Linked DNA regions of Homo sapiens: region 2 is linked to region 1. The links are contacts of gene promoters, found by promoter capture Hi-C in human tissues and cell types (Jung and others, 2019). All regions are on one chromosome and are shown on one strand. Each heading gives the region's core, a stretch centred on a gene start or on the middle of the fragment in contact. The rest is flanking DNA. Distances are from core to core; before and after follow the strand shown.

Region 1 (3,598 bases), core at 775-3,274:
ACACACTATGTAGTCTTTAGTGACCACTTTTTCACTTAGCATCATGTTTTCAAGGCTCATGCATGTTGTGGCATGTACTGGAACTCCATTCCTTTATATGACCAAATAATATACCATTGCATTGGCTGGATGCGGTGGCTCATGCCTGTAATCCCAGCACTTTGGGGGGCCAAGGCGAGGGCATCACCTAAGGTCAGGAGTTCGAGACTAGTCTGGCCAACATGGTAAAACCCCATCTCTACCAAAAATACAAAAATTAGCTGGGCGTGGTGGTACATACCTGTAGTTCCAGATACTCGGGAGGCTCAGGCAGGAGAATTGCTTGAACCCGGGAGGCGGAGGTTGCAGTGAGCCAAGATTGCACCACTGCACTCCAGCCTGGGCAACAGAGCGAGACCCCCATCTCAAAAAAAAAAAAAAAGAAAGAAAAAAATATATATGTCTATACCATTGCATGGTCAAGCCATATTTTGTTTATATATTCATCAGGTGATGAATATTTATGTTTTTTCCACTTTTTGGCTCTTGTGAATAATGCTGCTATGAGCATTCACGCACAAGTTTTTGTATAGACATCTGTTTTTAATTCTTTGGGGTTTTGCATTCATTTTAATTTTAAAAACATATTGCATAAAAATGTTATTTACCTTGATGACTGGGTTTTTTGGCATTCCCTTAAAATTTGCACCTGGGCTGCCAGGCATGGTGGCGCACGCCTGTAATCCTAACACTTTGGGAGGCTGAGGTGGGCGGATGGCTTGAGTCCAGGAGTTTGAGACCAACCTGGGCAGCATGGCAAGACCCTGTCTCCACAAAAAATACACACACAAGGCCGGGCACAGTGGCTCACACCTGTAATCCCAGCACTTTGGGAGGCCGAGGCGGACGAATCACTTGAGGTCAAGAGTTCAAGACCAGCCTGGCCAACATGGTGAAACCCCAACTCAATAAAGAATACAAAAAAATTAGCCGGGTGTAGTGGTATGTGCCTGTAATCCCAGCTACTCCGGAGGCTGAGGCAGGGGAATCGCTTGAACCTGGGAGGCGGAGGTTGCAGTGAGCCAAGATTGCTCCACTGCACTCCAAGCCTGGGTGACAGAGTGAGACTCTGTCTCAAAAACACACACACACACAACCCAAACACACACAACACACACACACAAAATCAGCTGGGTGTCGTGGTGCGTGCCTGTAGTGCCAGCTACTTGGGTACTTGGGTGGCTGAGGCGGGAGGATCACCTGAACCCAGGAAGTCAAGGCTGCAGTAAGCCATGATCGCGCCACAGCACTCCAGCCTGGGTGACAAAGTGAGAACATAGCTCAAAAAATAAAAAAATAAATTTGCACCTGAGGCAAGTGTCACACTCATCCCAACTCAGTCTCACCTTGCATGTTTTCTGCCTTGCTGGCTGTATGACCCTGGACAAGTTACTTAACCGCTCAGAGCCTCGATTTCCTCCTCTATAAAATGGGGATAATCTCTGTAACTGCTCACAGTTGGTAGCAGAATGCAATGAAGTGAATTCGCCCTCACAGAGCCAGCACTGTTCTTGGCACATGGTAATCTTAACATATTTTTTCCTACAGGGAGGCCTGGTGTCAGGCCGGGAGTGGGGTGGAAGGGTCCCAAAATGGATGGAAGGGCCCCAAAATGGCCGTGAGCATCCTCTGCCCTTGAGAAGAGCTAGCCCAGCTGTCTAGAGCTCCCTGCTGCTGCCGCTCTCGTAAGCAGCAAGCATTTTTGGCTCTCCTGTCTCAGCATGATGCCCCTACAAGGTTCTTTCGGGGGTGGGACCCAACGCTGCTCTCCTGATGGCCTCCCTGGCTCCCAGCACCTTCCATCCCAGCTGCTCAGGGCCCCTCACCTGCGCCTCCCCCACCCTCCCCTCTGCCCACTCCCATCGCAGGCCATAGCTCCCTGTCCCTCTCCGCTGCCATGAGGCCTGCACTTTGCAGGGCTGAAGTCCAAAGTTCAGTCCCTTCGCTAAGCACACGGATAAATATGAACCTTGGAGAATTTCCCCAGCTCCAATGTAAACAGAACAGGCAGGGGCCCTGATTCACGGGCCGCTGGGGCCAGGGTTGGGGGTTGGGGGTGCCCACAGGGCTTGGCTAGTGGGGTTTTGGGGGGGCAGTGGGTGCAAGGAGTTTGGTTTGTGTCTGCCGGCCGGCAGGCAAACGCAACCCACGCGGTGGGGGAGGCGGCTAGCGTGGTGGACCCGGGCCGCGTGGCCCTGTGGCAGCCGAGCCATGGTTTCTAAACTGAGCCAGCTGCAGACGGAGCTCCTGGCGGCCCTGCTCGAGTCAGGGCTGAGCAAAGAGGCACTGATCCAGGCACTGGGTGAGCCGGGGCCCTACCTCCTGGCTGGAGAAGGCCCCCTGGACAAGGGGGAGTCCTGCGGCGGCGGTCGAGGGGAGCTGGCTGAGCTGCCCAATGGGCTGGGGGAGACTCGGGGCTCCGAGGACGAGACGGACGACGATGGGGAAGACTTCACGCCACCCATCCTCAAAGAGCTGGAGAACCTCAGCCCTGAGGAGGCGGCCCACCAGAAAGCCGTGGTGGAGACCCTTCTGCAGTAAGGAGCCCTGCCCCGTCCCCGCTCCCAGGAGAGCCTAGAGGGGCCCCCCTCAGCTCCTAACGAGCCCCCCTTCTGAGTTGAGTCCCCATGACCTTCAGCCTTTAGCCTAGTTGCTGGGAAGGGGGACAGGGCCCATGAGAGCCCAGGGGTCCTTGCTTGGAGGTTTGAGCCTCCAGCCCCTGAACTGCTCCTCTGCAGAGTCCCAAATCCCATGAGCCCAGGCCTTTAGCCCAGTCCTTGGGCAAGGGGGACATTTCCCAGGGGGGTCCAAGATGGGAGAAAAAGCAGGTGAGTTCACAACTCAAATGCCTGGAGAACTGGGAGGTGGTGGAAATTTTTAGCCACTCTGATCATTTATACTCTCCAGACCCTAACTCCTGCACTGAGTCCTCAGTGGGTAGGCTCCGGGGCCCAGGAAGCACTGCCAGGGAGGAGGGCCCGAAGCTGGGGTTTGGGGGCTTTCCTGGCCTCCTAGGGACTCATGCGTTTAGCCAGGGAAGCCCAGGTCTTTCTTACCTGAGGCAGACAGAGCCTCGAGGTGGGAGCTGCTCCCCTTTCCTGTATGGCCACAGGCACCCCACCTCACCAGCAGGCGCCATTAGAGGCTGCCCGTTCTACATCCCCATCCGCTGGCGGACTCCCCGTCTCCTGGAGAACTGGGTGGGTCCTGAGCTCGATGCCTCCCCTCTCCTCAGCAGAGCTGACCTAGTTACTAATTACCCATGTGCTTTATTATTTCTCTTTTGTTTTATAAATTTATAAATGGCAAAAGGCTCTGATAAGGTCTGTGATCATTAACTTGTAGGAATGGTGGCCTGGAAAGATCTGGGCCAACCCACCTCCCACCTAGTGGGGGTGGGGGATGGGGGTGTGGGGGAGAAGGAAGGATGGCCTGGGGGCTACAGGGGCCACCCCTCCCCAGCGGCTCCCTGACCTCCACCCTACAGCGCCTGCTTGAGGAGGTTCACTACTTCCTGGGCGCTGTGCTGAGGTTTCACAGGAATAATTTCCCTTCATGG
Region 2 (3,837 bases), core at 1,254-3,753, 420 kb before region 1:
GCACCTGCCACCACGCCCGGCTAATTTTTGTTTTTTTTGTGTGTGTGTGTTGTGCTTTTTTTGTTTTTGTTTTTGTTTTGAGATGGAGTCTCACTCTGTTGCCAGGCTGGAATGCAGTGGTGCAATCCCGGCTCACTGCAATCTCCGCCTCCCAGGTTCAAGAGATTCTCCTGCCTCAGCGTCCTGAGTAGCTGAGATTACAGGCACGCACCACCACACCTGGCTAGTTTTTGTATTTTTAGTAGAGACGGGGTTTCACCATGTTGGCCAGCATGGTCTCAATCTCTTGATCTTGTGATCCGCCTACCTCAGCCTCCCAAAGTGCTGGGATTACAGGTGTGAGCCACCGTACTCCGCCTGGTGTTATTTTTTTTTAATTTTATTTTTTGAGGCAGAGTTTTGCACTTGTTGCCCAGGCTGGAGTGCAATGGTGCGATCTTGGCTCACTGAAACCTCTGCCTCCTGGGTTCAAGCGATTTTCTTACTCCAGCCTCCCTAGTAGCTGGGATTATAGGCGCCCGTCACCACGCCCAGCTAATTTTTTGTATTTTTAATAGAAACAGGGTATCTCTATGTTGGCCAGGCTGGTTTCGAACTCCTAACTTCAGGTGATCCACCTGCCTCAGCCTCCCAAAGTGCTGAACGTGAGCCACCACACCCAGCTGGCTTGGTCTTAAACTTCTAAACTCAAGCAATCTTCCTGTCTTGGCCTCTCAAAGTACTGGGATTATAGGTGTGAGCCACTGCGCTGGTCCACCATTTCTTTATTCTTTATTGTTGGTTTTACTGGTTGGTTTGAGCTTTTCTTTTTCTGTGTGTGGTTTTTTTTGTTTTTTTTTTTTTTGAGACAGAGTTTCGCTTTTGTTGCCCAAGCTGGAATGCAGTGGCATGATCTTGGCTCACTGCGACCTCTGCCTCCTGGGTTCAAGCGATTCTCCTGCCTCAGCCTCCCAAGTAGCTGGGATTACAGGCATGCCCTACCAGGCCCGACTAACTTTTTTGTATCTTTAGTAGAGACGGGGTTTCACCATGTTGGTCAGGCTGGTCTCGAACTCTTGATCTCAAGTGATCCACCCGCCTTGACCTCCCAAAGTGCTGGGATTACAGGTGTGAGCCATGGTGCCTGGCTGGTTTGAGCTTTTCTGATATTACATACAATGCTGTAACAATAAACGCGTGACTAAAGTTTTGACTACATCTCTGGGTTTCTTAGATTTCTTATATCAAGAGCAGAGCTACAGACCTTATTTTAAGACCATTGTTAAATTATTTTCTAGGAAATCATGCTAAATTACCCCATTTTCACCCCAGAGAAAAGGCTGTATTTGAAAATTCCTATTTAGCTACACCATCGTGAGCTTTGAATGTTGCATTTCTTTGATCTTGCTGGCATTCTTATAGATGAACAGCACAGCCAGTACTCCAAGTTGCTGCTGGCCTCTAAGGAGCAGGTGCTGCACCGGGTAGTTCTGGAGGAGAAAGTAGCACTAGAGCAGCAGCTGGCAGAGGAGAAGCACACTCCCGAGTCCTGCTTTATTGAGGCAGCTATCCAGGAGCTCAAGGTGAGAGGATGCATTGGAGATGCTAAACCTTTTCACTTTCTCGGCGTTCTGTGGTGAAAACCAGAAATGCTAAACCTTTTCACTCTGTCGGGGGTGAGATGATGGACGCTGGGGATTAAGTTAGTTCCATTCCACATTTAAGACAATAAGCAGAGAATGGCTAAAAAAGCCAATTTGTTTTGGGCTTTGTTTGATGACAGTAGAGAAGGTTTAACCTAGGGCTTTTAAAGCTCTTTCTAGAGCTGAAAGGAGCAAGTCAAAATGATTTTATAACTAATTGTGACAGTGGAGTTTTTTAGATTAGCTATGTTCTTAAAGCAAGTTAGAGTTCTTTGTTTTCTGGGAAAATACTTAAGATTCTATTCTAGAGGTGTTTTGAAAGACATTGTGGAGAAAGTATTATGGCCTGCCCAGTATGCCTTAGGAGTACCTGAAACGGCAAGAATTACACAAGAACAGAATTCCCTGGGTCTTTTATCTTCCACAACAGAGATTCTTGAAGCATCACAACCACTGGTTGTTAGGTCCCACTTTGAGATATTGATTGCATAGGTTAAGCTCAGTAGGCTCAGTAATTTGCATATAACAAGTTCTAGGGTGATTCTGATGGCTGCTCATCCCCAGACCACACTCCTGGAACCACTGATCTAGCTTAGAGCAATAGAAGCCCATATTTATTGAGTGATCAGCATTTGATAGGACTTGTGCTATACACATTTATCTCACTTAAGCTTCTAGTGTGGTAGATAGAACTATCCCCTTTCATGGATGAGGAAACTGAATCCTGGGTTGGGTAATTTGCTAGTAAGGGATGCAGCTGGTATTTGAATTCCCTTCTCCCTGACTCCCAAGGGCTCCTTGGGTAGAGTCCTGTGTATTTAACTTTTGCTTTCTTTCTATAATACGTTGCAGCCGTATTTGTTCAAATGCCATTACAGGCATAAGAAAGGCTACATAGAATTAGAGCTGTCCAGGCTGAGGTGGAGTTAGCTAAATCCTTCCTACTACTCTGGACCTCTGTCTGAGCATAGTTTGTAAAAACTAGGTTAGTTTCATGTTCTTAGATTTCTGTTCTGGAAGTTTTTTGTATAGTGTTGTTTGTGTCAGATTCTCTTTTATTTTTTTTAACTTTTAAGTTCAGGGGTACAAATGCAGGTTGTTACATGGTAAACCTGTGTCATGGGGGTTTGTTATACAGATTTTCACCCAGGTATTAAGCTTAGTACCCATTGGTTATTTTTCCTGATCCCCTCCCTCCTCCCACTCTCCACCCTCTGATAGGCCTCAGTGTGTGTTCCCCTCTATGTGTCCATGTTTCATCATTTAGCTCCCACTTAGAAGTGAGAACATGTGTGCGATATTTGGTTTTTCTTTTTCTTTCTTTCTTTTTTTTTTTTTTTTTTTTGAGACAGAGTTTTGCTCTCGTTGCCCAGGCTGGAGTGCAGTGGCGTGATCTCGGCTCATCACAACCTCTGCCTCCAAGGTTCAAGTGATTCTCCTGCCTCAGCCTCCTGAGTAGCAGGAATTACAGGCATGCCCCACCATGCCTGGGTTATTTTGTATTTTTAGTAGAGATGGGGTTTCTCCATGTTGGTCAGGGTGGTCTTGAACTTCCAACCTCAGGTGATCCGCCCACCTCAGTCTCCCAAAGTGCTGGGATTACAGGCATGAGCCACCACACCTGGCCGTATGTGTCTTTACAGTAGAATGATTTATATTCCTTTGGCTATATACCCAGTAATGGGATTGCTGGGTGAAATTTTATTTCTGTCTTTAGGTCTTTGAGGAATCACCACACTGTCTTCCACAATGATTGAACTAATTTACACTCCCCAGTGTCAGATTCTAAGCAGATTCCAATCCTTAGTGGGTATTGCATGCTTTTTGCTTCCTGTTTCCCTCAAAGTTGAGATATTTAAGCACCTAATTCCTTCCCATTGGGTCTCATTGCCTTTTAACTTTTGGTCCTGTTGAGAGGCCATTCTAAGCCCTTGCCCTTCAAGCTAAGTGTGTGTCTGGAAACTTAACCTTCTCTGGTGTTCTCTCTGGCCACGTTAGACTCGGGAAGAGGCTCTGTCGGGATTGGCCGGAAGCAGAAGGGAGGTCACTGGTGTTGTGGCTGCTCTGGAACAACTGGTGCTGATGGCTCCCTTGGCGAAGGAGTCTGTTTTTCAACCCAGGAAGGTTAGTGTGTTCCTGTTACTAAGTGGCTGCCGTTCCTCAAATGCTGTCATTGAGCTGGTAGGCATTACTGTGAGATCTAAACCTTCTCAAG

Evidence for each region. The method cuts DNA at HindIII sites, captures the fragments that hold promoters and counts their contacts. A contact is called where the count stands out against the background at its distance.
Region 2: a contact is called between a fragment that was not itself captured here and the fragment with the promoter of HNF1A in region 1, in 1 of the 25 tissues and cell types used here (lymphoblastoid cells).

Annotation. Positions count from the first base shown.
Region 1 is chr12:120,976,519-120,980,116 of GRCh38, forward strand. HNF1A (HNF1 homeobox A) reads left to right here and starts at 2,025. Exons shown (of 10, transcript NM_000545.8): 1 at 2,025-2,576. The coding sequence starts at 2,251. The HindIII fragment of the contact is 9,653 bases long and covers 1-3,598 here.
Region 2 is chr12:120,559,325-120,563,161 of GRCh38, forward strand. RNF10 (ring finger protein 10) reads left to right here. Exons shown (of 17, transcript NM_014868.5): 7 at 1,402-1,562; 8 at 3,621-3,746. Among named protein-coding and RNA genes, the nearest start is that of POP5, 20 kb to the right of the region's middle. The HindIII fragment of the contact is 5,481 bases long and covers 1-3,837 here.